Linked DNA regions of Homo sapiens: region 2 is linked to region 1. The links are contacts of gene promoters, found by promoter capture Hi-C in blood cells and fetal thymus (Javierre and others, 2016). All regions are on one chromosome and are shown on one strand. The core of a region is centred on a gene start or on the middle of the fragment in contact, and the rest is flanking DNA. Distances in the headings are between cores, read along the strand shown. Region 1 holds the start of PI3 (peptidase inhibitor 3). Region 2 holds the start of WFDC5 (WAP four-disulfide core domain 5).

Region 1 (7,811 bases), core at 4,084-6,583:
TAAAATGGCCATACTACCCAAAACAATTTACAGATTCAATTCTATTCCTATGAAACTACCAATGACATTCTTCACAAAAGTAGAAAAAACTATTTTAAAATTTATATGGAACCAAAAAAGAGCCTGAATAGCTGAGTCAATCCTAAGCAAAAAGAACAAAGCGGGAGGTGACACATTGCTTGACTGCAAACTATACTTCAAGGCTGCAGTAACCAAAACTGCATGGTACTGGTACAAAAACAGATACCTAGAACAATGGAACATTACAGAGCCCAGAAATAATTAATGCTGCAAACCTACAACTATCTAATCTTCAACAAAATCAACAAAAAAAGAAACAATGGGGGAAGGGACTTCCTATTAAATAAATGATTCTGGAATAACTGGCTAGCCATATGCAGAAGACTGAAATTGTACCCCTTCCTTAAACCATATACAAAAATCTACTCAAGATGTATTAAAGACTTAAATGTAAAACATAAAACTATAAAACCCTGCAAGGTAACCTAGGAAATATGATTCTGGACGTAGAACTTGGTAAATATTTCATGATGAAGATGCCAAAAGCAATAGCAACAAAAACAAAACTTGACAAATAGGACCTAGTTAAACTAAAAAGCTTCCGCACAGCAAAAGAAACTATCAGCACAGTAAACCAACAACCTACAGAATAGAAGAAAATATTTGTGAGCTATGTGTCCAACAAAGGTCTAATATCCAGAATCTATAAGGAACTTAAACCAGTTAACAAGCAAAAAACAGACAACCCCATTAGAAAGTGGGCAAAGGACATGAACAGAAACTTCTCAAAAGAAAACATACATGTTGCCAACAAACAAATGAAAAAATGCTCAACATCACAGATCATTAGAGAAATGAAAATCCAAACAGTAATTGAGATAGCATCTCACACCAGTCGTTATAACATAACATATGCTGTCAAGGTTGTAGAGAAAAGGGAACATTTATACACTGCTGGTAGGAATGTAAATTAGTTCAGCCAGCATGGAAAGCAGTATGGCAATTTCTCAAAGAACTTAAAACAGAATTACCATTCAACCCAAGATATTCCATTAATGGTTATATACCCAAAGGAATATAAATCATTCTATCATAAAGACACATCCATGTAGTATGTGAATCACAGAACTATTCACAGTATCAAAGACATAGAATCAACCTAATTGCTCATCAATGATAGACTGGATAAAGAAAATGTGGTATGTAAACACCATAGAATACTACGAGTCATAAAAAAGAACAAGATCATGTCCTTTGCAGCAACATGGATGGAGCTGGAGGCCATTATCCTAAGCAAACTTTCACAAGAACAGAAAAGAAAATACCACATTTTCTCACGTATAAATGAAAACTGAACATTGAGTACATATGGACACAAAGAAGGGAACAATGGACACTAGGGCCTACTTGAGGGTAGAGAATGGGAGGAGCGTGAGGATCAAAACACGAATCGAGTACTATGCTGATTACCTGGTGATGAAATACTTCTGCACACGAACCCCCCCATGACATGAAATTTACCTATACAACAAACCTGCACATGTACCCCTGAAACTAAAATAAAAGTTAAAAATAAAACCCCAAAATTAGACACACAGTCTGTTCATGAGGCTTGATGGAAACAGCAGGCAAGTTTATCCACTACTGGTGGGATTACAATATGGTACAACCCCTATCAAGGGAAATATGGCAATATTATCAAAATTTCAAATGCATTTCACCTTTGTATAAGCAAATATACTTCTGGGAATCTGGTTCACAAGAAAGCAAGCTAAGAAAGGCCACATGTGGTATAGTTTGTAATGGCAAAATATTGGAAACAACTTGCGAGGGTAGCAATGTGGGTTTATTGAAAGCTAAGGTAGTCTATAAATGATTCGCTCTGCAGCTTTCTCTCTCTCTCTCTCTCTCCAAGCAATCAAAGAACTAGAACATTACTAATAACCAACAACTTAAATCAACCCGTGTCCTTCTCACCCATCCAGAATGTTTTCTTCTCTCGTTTCCAGAGTTAGCCACTATCTTGTATGTCATTTTTATAGTTTTTTCATTTTTTATGTATCCCTTTTTGAGCTTTGCTTCATATGTAAATATGCCTAGGCAATATATTTCCCAGTTCTCCTTCATTTGAGTTTTATGACAAGTGGGTAATTCTAAATATTGTCACTGTGGACTTGTGTTGTTTATTCAACATTATTTTAATTATGGTCATATTGTGCATGGCTGTAATTCAGTTATTTTCATAATTGTATAATACTTCCTTGCATTAATATGTCATGACATATTTATGCATTAATATGTCATGACATATTTATCCAGTATTTTAGTATTGGTAACATGGACTGTTTCCAGTATGTTATTGTTAAAAACAGTACTTTTATGAACATTATTGTGCATGTTTCTTGGTAAACATGTGGAAATATTTTCCTTAATTAAATCTTTAGGAGTGCAATTGCTGAATTATAGATTGTGTACACATTCAATTTTACTAGCTGATGTCAAACTGTTTTTAAATGTTTCACCAATATAGACTCTCATTAGTAATGCATAAAAGTTTCTTTTCTACTACAAATCAATAAGAAAAGATAAACAACCCATTCAAATCTAAAATAAAAGTTGAAATTAAATAAATAAGTAAATAAAAGGTAAGATACTTGAATTGGCACTTCACAAAAGAGGATAGCCAAATGGATAATAGAAATATTAAAAATGGGCCGGGTGCAGTGGCTCATGTCTGTAATCCTAGCACTTTGGGAGGCCAAGGCAGGTGCATCATCTGAGGTCAGCGGTTCGAGACAAGCCTGACCAACATGGTGAAACTGCAAAATATAAAAATTAGCTGGGCATGGTGGCATGTGCCTGTAATCCCAGCTACTTGGGAGGCTGAGGCAAGAGAATCACTTGAACCTGGGAGGTGGAGGTTGCAGTGAGCTGAGATTGTGCCATTGAACTCCAGCCTGGGTGACAAGAGCGAAATTCCATCTCAAAAAAAAAAAAAAAAAAAAAAGGAGTATTAAAAATGGGTCAGCTTCACCAGTTATTAGGAAAGTGTAAATTCAAATCACAGGAAATCCCACAAGATGTCCACCTGAATGGCTAATGAAAAGGCAAATCATATGAGGCATTGGTGAGATTATGGAGCAAATGGAATGCTCACACATTGCTGATAGCAGTGTGAATTGGTACAATGATGTTGGAAAATTGATTGCAGTATTTATGACAGCTGGATGTATCTATACTCTGTGATCTGTACTCTGTGATCCAGCAATTCCATTCCTAACCATATATCCAAAATAAATGCATACCTATGTTCTGCAAGAGATATGTACAAGAATATTCATAGCAACACTATAATAGCTAAAACCTAGAAATATCCAATGTATATTGACAGTAGAATGAATATATAACATTTTTGGTATTTTTCATAGAATACTGTACAGCAGTGAAAATGATGAACTACAGGTGTAGACTTCAAAATGGATGACTCTCAAAAATATAATGTTGAGCAACATAAGCAGGACATATGAACACTATACCTTAGATTTCATTTACATACAAATTGAAAAAGTATACTAAACTGAATATATATTTCAGAATACAGACAGAAGTGGCATAACTATAAAGGAAAGCAAGGGCTAATTACCATAAAATCTTAGGAAGCAGTTATCTCTGGGGAGGAAGGAGAATGAAGCAACTGAGGAGAGGCATGGAGCATAGATATAGCAAATATTCTCCTCCTTTACCTGGCAGCTCATTTTAATGCTATTCTTTAAAGAATATAGGTATTTTCTGTGAGCTTTTTATTTGTTTGTATGGCTTATTGTACAATGAGCTTTTGTGTAAGGTAGCCAAAGGCTTCCACAGTCTGACATTCGTTTATGTCTCCCTCAGTTTCAGGCTTGGTGGGCATGTGGTCAGAGTCTAAATCGACAAGGGGTGGGGATTTCACCAGCTGAATTAGTGTCCAATAATTAGTTTGTTACCTTCCCTGCCTTAACTCCACCTCAACTCAGTGACTTTCTTAACTCAGATTCTGTCCCTGACAATACCCAACTTCAGGATATTCATTTCTATTACTCAGAACTTTTGGTAACAATGACAGAATAGTAAGTCAGACTAGCTGAAGCAGAGGGCTAATTTATTGCCTCATAACCCAACCATGAGAAGGGTGTGTGAAGAACTGCTCTCAAGGTAAAGGAGGGAAACCTGGCTGTGTCATCTGAATCTTCTCTCACCATCACTTCTCTCCTTGTCTCAGTGTATTAGAGTCGTTTTTCTCAGACAATTGATCTCCACCCCCAGACTTAGATAACCACTTCTGGAATTCCCTGGTTCATATATATCACCTTTTCCAGAAGAAGGAACCCCCGTTTTCCCCTTTCATTACTCATTCAAATAAAATATGTTAATAGACCAGACCAAGTCTCACACACAACACACACACACACACTCACACACACACACACACACACACACCCCTACCTGTGGTCAGGGGTCAGGCTTTCATGATTAGCAGTCCCCATTAGACTCACAAGTTGATGGTTCAAAGAGACAACAATTCTTCACAAGAAACAGGGTGCTGTTCAAAGAAGTGGGGAGGCATGCTGGACACACACACTGTAGATGTCCAATGTATACATGATACATGTTTTCTACTACTTTCTGATTATTTTCTCCCTACCACTGTGATTTCAAGGGCATCATCCCTCTTCAGACCTAGAATTCCACCTTCCAATTACTTTCTTGATGCATCTGAAAGGCCGTCTCTGAAACAGCAAAGTGCAATAATTAGTCATTATGTATTCAAGGCAAATTTGTCTTACAGAGTTTTTTGCAGGACCAGGGAAGAAGGAAGGAAATGCCCAGTTTGATGCTGGGAGTGGTAAAATGATAAAGTAGATCTGGGTGGGGTTTGTAGCACCAGAGCATAATGGAGAAACACCTTGGTTTTGTAATCAAGACTGGATCTACCAGTGACTTGCTGAATAACCTTCGGTGATTCCTTTCTCTTCTTGGGTCTCACTGTATTTCAAAACATGAAGAATTTCATTGTAATGTTACCTAATAAGTGAGCCAGCACTTCTACTCTGTGAGAAAGTAGGAAAACTCTTGGGACAATCAGAGATGATGTGATGTAATGTCCATTAGTTCTTCCTGTGAATAATCCTGAGGGAAAGCCCCCAGGTCCCTCCCAGAATGGGGTGGATATTTCCCAATACAGCTAAGGAATTATCCCTTGTAAATACCACAGACCCGCCCCTGGAGCCAGGCCAAGCTGGACTGCATAAAGATTGGTATGGCCTTAGCTCTTAGCCAAACACCTTCCTGACACCATGAGGGCCAGCAGCTTCTTGATCGTGGTGGTGTTCCTCATCGCTGGGACGCTGGTTCTAGAGGCAGCTGTCACGGGAGGTGAGTGAACAGGTGACCTGCTGGGCTGGGTTGGACTAAGGGGAGACCCTCTGGGACACCCTGGGCCAGGACAGGGAGCACTTCTGAAGCAGTAGGCAGCACTGGAGCCCAGATTTCAGCTTTCTGTTCTTTGCCATCATATTCAGAAAAAATAGGACTTTGGCTGGTGGACTCCACGTGCTTTCCACCTCAGTGACTGAGATATCAGGACTGTTTGTGGAAGTAATGTTGGTATGTGGCCTTGGCCTCAGATGTCAATACCTGTGCAGAATGTGCAATAAAATAATGAACTCCAGGATTTTAAACCTTGGGTGTGGACACAGTCCCCCGTTTCTCTGCCCCATAAAAGCACTGGAGTAATCAGTACTCTAAAAGGAGGTTAAGAAACAACAAGCCTTCAGGAATCATGTTGTTTGAGGACCCCCATTTTATAAGGAGGGAACCAAAAATGTAGAAATGAGTGAGCAATTGCCAAGGTAATTCCCAGAGCCAGGATGGGGCTCAAGTCTCCTAGTATGTGGCTCAGGGTTCTTTCCTACTCCAATGCACTTCCTAACAAATGACAATGTGTCCTCTTCACTGCTGGGTGTCACCCCAGTCTGACCACTGCTCCTGAGAGACTTGGAGTGGAGGAAGGGGGAAGAAACAAATACTCAAGGGAACTCTGGTCCAGTAGACCACCCCAAAAAAGGAAGAGCCTTCCAAGAGTGTAGCTCCCAGAGGTGTACCTTCCCTACTCAGGCCATGGTTTGAGGATGCTGCAGTAAGCAGTGGATGGACCCAGACCCAGAGGAAAGACATGGCAGCTGAAGCAGAGGCTTACTGGGTATAAATGTGGGCTCGTTTCTTCTTTTAACAGTTCCTGTTAAAGGTCAAGACACTGTCAAAGGCCGTGTTCCATTCAATGGACAAGATCCCGTTAAAGGACAAGTTTCAGTTAAAGGTCAAGATAAAGTCAAAGCGCAAGAGCCAGTCAAAGGTCCAGTCTCCACTAAGCCTGGCTCCTGCCCCATTATCTTGATCCGGTGCGCCATGTTGAATCCCCCTAACCGCTGCTTGAAAGATACTGACTGCCCAGGAATCAAGAAGTGCTGTGAAGGCTCTTGCGGGATGGCCTGTTTCGTTCCCCAGTGAGGTGAGCACTAGCTGGAGAACGAGGAGACCCCTGAAGACACAAAAGAAGGCTGAGCGGTGGGGAAGCATCCCAGGTTGGTGGGAGGGAGGTTGTGGGAGGTGACAGAAAGACTGGGAGACTGAGGGGTCTGAGAGGCTATAACCAGAGTGCCTAGAAGGATGATCTGTCTTCCTCACTGCCTCTGAGTGCTTTGATGTGCTGACTCTCACCTCTGATACTCTTCTCTTCCACAGAGGGAGCCGGTCCTTGCTGCACCTGTGCCGTCCCCAGAGCTACAGGCCCCATCTGGTCCTAAGTCCCTGCTGCCCTTCCCCTTCCCACACTGTCCATTCTTCCTCCCATTCAGGATGCCCACGGCTGGAGCTGCCTCTCTCATCCACTTTCCAATAAAGAGTTCCTTCTGCTCCACTTGTTTCTGGTTCCTATGACTTCTGGGCTCCTGGATGCTTTGGGGAAATGGATGTAGAATTGGGACTTCTTCTCTCCAGTGAAGAGGGGAAACGGTCCCATGGTGAAAGAGAGCAGGGCGGGGGGAGGAAACAGGAGGCACATTGCTAGGGCTTCATATTACAAATCCAATAATCAGCCCCAGTGCTGCCAGCTCCTTTTCACCAGGAAATGGAAATATGGAAATCTTGCCTTTGGCCAAGGACCAGGAAAAACACAAAACACAAAAAATAAATAAACATTACATAAACCATAAGCAGGTCTTTTTTTTCCAATCCACCATCAGTCCTGACCTGGCTACTGTCGGCCTTACCAGTGTGACCAGCCAACCCTTATGGCTGCAACTACAGCTCCCCACTTCCTTCTCATTAATGTTTCCCAGGAATCTATATCTTTTCAACACCACATAGAAAGGATGATGTTACAGATGCTGCGAAACTCCTGCTCTTTAGAATTTCACTGGTTTATGCCTGAGATTCCTCCATGAAGTAGCATTCCTTTAGGTTAAGCAATATTCTCTTCCAGATTTCTGTTTTAAGATGTGAATGAGGAGGCAAGATACACTAAGTCCTTCATACTATGGTGTCAGAGGTTTGGGTGAATAGCATTCTCTGGAGACATACATGTTGGGGGCAGGGCAGACTTGAGTAGTGGAGAAAGGGGCAGGAATATGAGCAACCTCATGGCTCTCCTGTTGACCCACTCGTCCCACTGCGATTGCACAAGGAAACTCTCAGAGAAGGCCACAGCCCCCAGGAGGGGAGCAGCCTGGGTGAAGGGGAATAAGCACAGGCTT
Region 2 (7,860 bases), core at 1,847-4,346, 60 kb before region 1:
ACATCGGGTTGGTTTAAATTAAATTGCTGCCCCCTGCTGGAGAAAGAGAGGCTTGGCGTGGGGAGGGGGAAAAAGTGTGGGTTTGGGGTGGTGGGGGTGATGGGAGGGTTCCTGGGAAACTGTCTGAGGTCCAAGGTTTAGCCCTGAATTCACAAGTCCAAGTCAAAGGTGCGCAGGCCTCAAAGGGTGGGCCAAACGGAGCTGCGTGCACTCAAAGCCGGTGGAGCCGGGTGGGTCAGGCAGGGAGAGCTTCTGTGGCGAGGGGCCTGGGGCTGGCCTTGGGGAATGGACAGATAGGGATGGGGCATGACAGCTGGCATTTCCAGTGGAAGAACTGCGATAGCTGCAATGTGGAGGTGGGGATAAAAGCCTGGCGTGTGCAGAGCCGGCGTGAGAGGCTCTGGGTGGTCACACTCACTCTGTTTGCCTGCCTTTCCTAACAGTCCCTCCAAACCAGGTTCTCCACTCACAGATGTGTACATCGAGACAGTCACACACACAGATGGTCATCCAGATGCATGCGCCATGGGTGTGTAGACTTAGAGAGCAAAAGAATCGTATCCAAACATGGTTAAATATATACACTTGTACACACAGACGATACACACATAGTCAAATACACAAGCACATTTAGATCTAGACACACAATTAGCTACAGGCTTAACAGTAGGAAACTGCAGATAGTCAACTGTTTTATCTACAAAAGTAGCAATTTTACATGGTTCAACTTAATACACACATATATACATATGGACATATATCAGAGAGTTATATATATGCAATATATTTATAAACATATATAAACAGGCAGTCATGTATGTACATATGAGCTGGAACATAATCACTGTCATTTACACATGCCTACCCACATAGATACATACACACAGATAGACACTCAGACACACACAGTTATGTATATAAATATATAAATATATAGCATATGTATGTGAACAGAGAGACATACATAAGCATACACAGTCATATATACAGAATCATATGCACAGAGCTACACAGACACATATATCTTCCCAATACCACATAACCACTGACAGCATTTAATTAGGCACTTGCTGTTTATCAGGGACTATGCCAGGCTCTTTGTATCAGAGACACCCAGACGTTTGAGTGAGAAGGGGGCAGAATGGGGAGCTCTTATAAACAGAGGCGGCTGGGCTTCCACAGGCAACAAACTGAGACTTCCCTTCCCTTGGCTTCGTCACCTTCCTCCATTGTCTGAAATTCTACCAACAGCTCGGCAATGTCTTACAGGAGAGAAACCAGTGGGGGACAAGGTGTGGTGAACTGGGGGAGAGACAAGCTTGTCACACCTGCCCATGCAGAGTGGCCCTGCGCAGGCTCGGTTTCTGCTGTGCCAGCTCTTTGCCTCTGAGCAGCTGGGCTGAATATTGGGGTGTGCTCCCTGGGAACACAATGACTCCCCCAAATCACCCACTTATGCTGTGCTTACTGTGTGCCAGGCCCTTATTCCTCGAGACACCATTTACTCCTGAGAGAGAGGCATGGGACCCCATTTTACAAGGAGTAAGTCTCCAGACCTGTCCTGTTGCCTTCCAGGAGTGTCCTGCCTGGAAGTCCTAATAAACTCATGCACTTGCCAATCTGGCCTTGTCTAAGTCATTCTTTGTTCTCTCAGCTCCTTCCTATGTTGGGGGTGCATTGTCCTGTACAGTCCTGGGTTTTTGCTGTAATAGTTGGTAAAGTGAATCTTTCTGATTTCAAATACTTGCACTCATGCACTTGCTAATCTGGCCTTGTCTAAGTCATTCTCTGGTCTCTCAGCTCCTTCCTATGTTGGGGGTGCATTGTCCTGTACAGTCCTGGGTTTTTGCTGTAATAGTTGGTAAGGTGAATCTTTCTGATTTCAAATACTTGCATTCAAATGCCACATTTGGCACTAACTCAGAGTCAGTCTTTGACCTTGTTAAGTGGTTCCCCGCTATGCCTCAATTTTCCTCATCTGCAAAATGGGGATGAAAATAGTCCTGTCCTCACAGCACCTTGTCGAGGAGTTACGTGATGATGGTGCATGAATCACAGCCAACACAGGGTCCAGCCTTGGAGCTCACCAGTGTACTTCCTTCCTCAGCCTGTCCCCATTACTGTCCCCTTTCTTTAAGGCAGGGCAAGGGTTGCACAGGTGAATGTAGGTTGGAGTGTTCCAGCCCCAGAAAAGGACGCAGGTGGAGGCCTCACCCAGATCAGGAGTCACCTGTCTAGCCACTCAGCAGCCCTCCCTCACCTGTCAGCAGGCCAGCCCCAGCCTTGTCAGGGGTGGGAATGGGGACAGGAGGTTGGGGGCGATGAGAGTTAGAGACAGAGCTTCCTCCCCACAAAGCCCAGATCCCAGAAGCCACACCCTCTCCTCAATTCCCAAGTCCCTTCCACAGATGGGGTGGTGGACCCACTGACCCAGTCACACCACAGCCCAGCAGGCACAGACAGGGTCCCTCCCCACACCTGAAGGCACAGAGACACACATGGACAGGCACCAAGCTCAGACACATGCGTGCAGCCATTCCTAAGTGTACGTGTGCAGACAGAGCTTTGCACAGACAAGCAGACGCAAAGACACATGTCTACACAGACACAGGCACATGCATTCCCCGCCCTGCCACCCCCTGACATATAGACAGGCACAGACAAGCACCGAGAAACTGGCAGAAAAGACACTTACAGATACCAACACAGGCAGGTGGACAGGCACAAATGTACACACATAAAAACACAGGCTTCTGAAAGCACTAAGAATCAGGCATCCACACATACACACACGCACGCACGCACACACACACGCGCACACACACCCCACAGGGCATTACCTGCCTTCCCCCAAACCCTTACTCTCCCTAGAGAAGTAGAGACAATCTGGTCCCCCCAGCAGAGGGATTTCCCGCACTCACCTCCCTTCTTCCTGCCAAAGACAGCAGGCAGCTGACTCCCCACAGCCAGGAGGGCCCCCAGGAGGAGAAGGCTCTGGGTCCTCATATTTCTGCTGCCGGCTCAGGGCCCAGGGCCCCCCAGATTAACACCTGCAGCCTCAGGGAAGCCAGAGAAACTTAGTCAGGAGAGGAAAGAGAGGGGGTGTGGAGTGACACCGTGCCTGCTTCATCTTGGCCCCACCCCCTGAGGGCCCGAGGACTCAGTGCAAGGGATGCTGTCACAATAGCTGAAGATAGGGTGGCGGCACATCCTGCATGTGGGGGACTCAGATCCAGTCTTGCCTGTATCGGTGACTTGGGCTGTGATCTTGGGCAAGTCTTGTCTCTCTGGGCTTCAGTTTTTTCATCTGTACACAGGGTGAAGGTTGTTGAGGCAGATGCTTGCTATCCTGGCTCTCAAAGATGTTGAAGCCCCAGCGATGTCTAGGCAGCGGGTAGAGGTCAGCTTTGAATAGCAAAGGAGTGGGGGTTTGCAGAGTTCTGGATGCCTAGGAAGGGAGAAGGCATTAGGGTTAGGCCAGAGCTTGCAGCCAAAGAAGGCTGGCCCAGGCTGGCATAATGAGTGAGGCCAGCCCTGGCCTCTCCTCTTGGGTCCTGTGGATGGGAGAAAGACCACCCCGCCTTTGGTGAGATCACCAGTGGCTTCTGATAGAACTGCCCTCTTCCTGGGGCTGGCTTGGCTGTTGAGGGTGGGGGAGCATGGCTTTTGGCTTGGCTAAGTTTGCTGGTCACAGCAGATGTGTGGCCACTGGAACCTCTTCTCTGGCCCTAAGGGATCCTGAGCAAAAAAATGTCATCTCATCCAGGGACCCCCACCTTAGATTTCGTATCTCTGATGTTGCCTCCTGCATTTGGTAGAAGAGAGGGAGCTGAGACTTGGCATCCTAAGGGACATCCTAAACAGAAACTCCATCGAAGTACATTCTCTCAGCCTTCTCATTTGAAAGACGAGGAAACTGTGAGATAGAGATGAGAGGGGACTGGCCCAAGGACACGCAGCTAATTCCTGACTAAGCTGGGACTTCCCACTGTGGCCTCCCCATCACCCTCATTCAGTTCCTGGGTTTTAAAAGCAGGTCAATACCTCATCTGATCCTGAGAAAGGAGGGTGATATTACAGGGCTTGTCTCACTTACCCATTCCAATCCAGGACAGCCCTGGCAGCAGGAAGTTCTTCCTTGGGTTTAATGTGAATCTCTCGTGCTGTCTTCTAAGCTATTAAGATAGGAGAGGCTCTGTCTTCTATGATCTGATGTTGCTTTTGGAATGCTGGCACCTCCTTGGAAGCTTTATTTTGGAGGACAAATATATGAGCCCTTCCTTCCTCCCTCCCTCCACCCCTCCCTCCCTCCACCCCTCCCTCCCTCTTTCTTTCTTTTTTCTTTTCTTTCTTTCTTTTTCTTTTTCTTTCTTTCCTTTTTTCATTTCTTTCTTCTTTCTTTCCTTCTTTCCTCTCTTTCTTTCCTTTCTCTTTCTTTCTTTTCTTTCTTTCTTCTTTCTTTTTCTTTCTTCTTTCTTTCCTTTTTTATTTCTTTCTTCTTTCTTTCCTTCTTTCCTCTCTTTCTTTCCTTTCTCCTTCTTTCTTTCTTTCTTTCTTTCTTTCTCTCCTTCTCCTTCTTCTTTCCTCTCTCTCTTTCTCTTTCTCTCTCTGTCTTTGACAGAATGTCGCTATGTCACCCAGGCTGGAGTGCACAGTGCCATCATGGCTCACTGAACCCTTGACCTCATGGACCCAAGTAGTCCTCCTGCCTCAGCCTCCTGAGTACCTGGGACTATAGGCATGCGCCCCAATATTTGGCTAGTTTTTATTTTTTGTAGAGATGGGGGGTCTTCCTATGTTGCCTAGGCTGGTCTCTAACTCTAGGACTCAAGTGATTCTCCCACCTTGGCCTCCCAAAGTGCTGGGATTCCAGGGGTGAGCCACTGTGCTCAGCCATGAAATGCTCTTTTTTTTTTTTTTTTTTTTTTTTTTGAGACGGAGTCTTCCTCTGTCATCCAGGCTGGAGTGCAATGGGGCAATCTCTGCTCATTGCAACCTCCGTCTCCTGGGTTCTAGCAATTCTCTGCCTCAGCCTCCCAAGTAGCTGGGACCACAGGCGCCCGCCACCATGCCTGGCTAATTTTTTGTATTTTTAGTAGAGACGGGGTTTCACCATGTTGGTCAGGCTGGTCTTAAACTCCTGAATTCAGGTGATCCACCCGCCTCGGCCTCCCAAAGTGTTGGGATTACAGGCATGAGCCACCATGCCAATGCTTTTTAAATTAAAATTATTTTGTAGACATTTTCCTGTGCTGTGAAATGTTCTCTAAACATCATGTTTTCTGATGGCTACATGCTGTTTTGTTAGATCTATATGTCAAAACATCACTTCAGTAAAGTTTTTAGGGAAAAAAGATATGCCAAAATATACACAATCAGTATCCTATTATGAAACATGGAGGTTTCCAATTTTCCACTTTCATAAATAAAGCTGTGATAACCATCTTTTTGTGTACATTTTGGAGTCACATCTCTGACTGTTTTCTTAAAGTAAATTTGTCAAAGTTAGAAATGCTAGGTCAAAAGGCACAGTCATGTTTCCAGGCGTTGGATATATCTGGTCAAATTAAATTTCAGAAAGGAAGTAAGTGAGTGTACAAGAGCCTCCACCTGCCCTGCCATAGACCTCTATTGTTTCGTCTGCCCAGCGTCTCTTCCTTTGGTGGAACCATTGCCTCCTGACTGCTGTCATTCTGGTTGGTTGCCAATCAGCAGGTACTTCTCCTATCAAAGCTGAGGGCACTGGATCCAGGTTACACCCACTGCACTCTTCTCCACCCCTAACTTGCCCACGCCTTCATTAGAGTCTTGAACAGATAAGCCAGTTCTCTAAACAGAACAGTCCAAAGCTCAGATGCTGTTGCTCACAGCCAAAGATCCTTAGTGGATATTCTTACTACATACAGGATATTAAAAAAATAAGTAAATAAAATCTTTGCTAACGGAAAACAATATTTCATTTTAATTTGTCTTCCTCTTCCTCTTAATACCCATGATGGTGAGCATTTCTTCATATTCGCATACTGACTGTATCCTTTCTCTGTGAATTGCCTGTTTTTGTATTTTGCTCATTTTTATTGGGGGTCCTTTTATTTTTGAGTTTTAAGAGCTGTTTATATATTAAGAATCTATTAACCTGTCATACACAAGGGGCAGTAGTGAACAGATGTATATTGGAGTTAGGCAGACCTAGTTTTGAATCTTGGTGCCATAGGCTCTATCTGTTTGACATTAATTTTGTAAAACCCCTGTTTATTTTTGTATACCAGTAGAGATAGAGATAATCATATACGTGTTATAGGATGGTTCTGAGAACTGAATGAGATAAACTTGATAAATGCTTTGATGCTATATTGCAAATATTTCTTTCCTCATTTTTGCTTAGTACCAAAGGATTAAATTTTGGGGTAATCAATTCAATCTTTTCATTCATATTTTCTCCTTTTATTTTTATGCTAAAAAGGCTTTTTGACTCTGATGTTAGATAAATATTCACTATATTTACTTGTTATTATTTTGTGATTTTTGAAAGACATGATAATTCTTTAATCTAGCTGAAGTTTATCTTGGTATAGAGCGTGAAATAGGAAATATCTTTTTTTTGTAAGTAATTAAGCAATTGTCCTATGATCATTTAGTGAATAATTTAAACTTTTGCCATTGATTAAGAATTAAAACTTTATCAATAACTTAAGTCTTATTGTAACAGGGGCTGTTTATGGGTTTTCATTTTTTTTCTTTTCCTTTTTTTTTTTTGAGATGGAGTCTCGCTCTGTCACCCAGGTTGGAGTGCAGTGGCATGATCTTGACTCACTGCAACCTCCACCTCTCGGGTTCAAGCAATTCTCCTGCCTCAGCCTCCTGAGTAGCTGGGATTACAGGCACATGCCACTACACCCAGCTAATTTTTGTATTTTTAGTAGAGACAGGGTTTCACCATGTTGGTCAAGCTCCTCTCAATCTCCTGACCTTGTGATCTGCCCGCTTCAGCCTCACAAAGTGCTGGGATTACAGACGTGAGCCACCGTGCCTTGCCCGTTCTTTTCTTTTGACTGTTTATTCTTATGCCAGCACAGACAAGCATGTATTGTGGGTTCAGTTCCTGACCACTGAAATAAAGAGAATATTGCAATAATATTTGGTTAGTTTTTATTTTTTGTAGAGATGCGGGGGGCGGGGGCCTTCCTATGTTGCCCAGGCTGGTCTCTAACTCCTGGACTCAAGTGATTCTCCCACCTTGGCCTCCCAAAATGCTGGGATTAAAGTGAGCCATGTGGATTTTTTGGTTTCCCAGTGTATCTAAAAGTTATGTTTGCACTATAGTGTAGTCTATTAAGTGCAAAATAGCATTTGTCTAAAATAAGTATGTACCTTAATTTAAAAATACTTTATTGCTAAAATATGCTAATAATCATGTAAGCCTTCAGTGAGTCATCATCATCTTTCTGCTGGCGGAGGGTCTTACCTTGATGTTGAGGCTGCTGAATGATCAGGGTAGTGGTTTCTGAAGGATAGGTTGACTGTGGCAATTTTAAAAAATCAGACAACTATGAAGTTTGCTGCATCCATGGACTCTTCCTTTTTTTCAACTTTCATTTTAGAATTAGGGGGTACATGTGCAGGTGTGATACAAAGGTATATTGTGAAAGATTTCTCTGTCACATATTGTGAAATACTATCAAACATGCAATGCTGTTTGATAATATTTTATACACTGTACATCCTCTTTCAAAATCAGAGTCATGGCATGGTGCAGTGGCTCATGCCTATAATCCCAGAGCTTTGGGAAGCCAAGGCAGGAGTATCACTTGAGCCCAAGAGTTTGAGACCAGCCTGGGCAATACAGTGAGGCTCTACCTT

What was found. Contacts are between HindIII fragments. The CHiCAGO score rates a contact against its expected background, and 5 or more counts as called.
Region 2: a contact is called between the fragment with the promoter of WFDC5 here and the fragment with the promoter of PI3 in region 1, in 3 of 17 cell types (M0 macrophages, M2 macrophages and M1 macrophages). The highest score is 7.4, in M0 macrophages.

What each region holds. Positions count from the first base shown.
Region 1 is chr20:45,169,569-45,177,379 of GRCh38, forward strand. PI3 (peptidase inhibitor 3) reads left to right here and starts at 5,334. Exons shown (of 3, transcript NM_002638.4): 1 at 5,334-5,433; 2 at 6,293-6,568; 3 at 6,802-6,976. The coding sequence starts at 5,355. The coding sequence ends at 6,567. RefSeq lists an enhancer at 4,924-6,123. The HindIII fragment of the contact is 9,599 bases long and covers 618-7,811 here.
Region 2 is chr20:45,112,078-45,119,937 of GRCh38, forward strand. It overlaps WFDC5 (WAP four-disulfide core domain 5), which reads right to left and starts at 3,097. Exons shown (of 4, transcript NM_145652.4): 1 at 2,922-3,097. The coding sequence starts at 3,006. RefSeq lists enhancers at 2,533-3,034, 3,035-3,534. The HindIII fragment of the contact is 2,929 bases long and covers 1,317-4,245 here.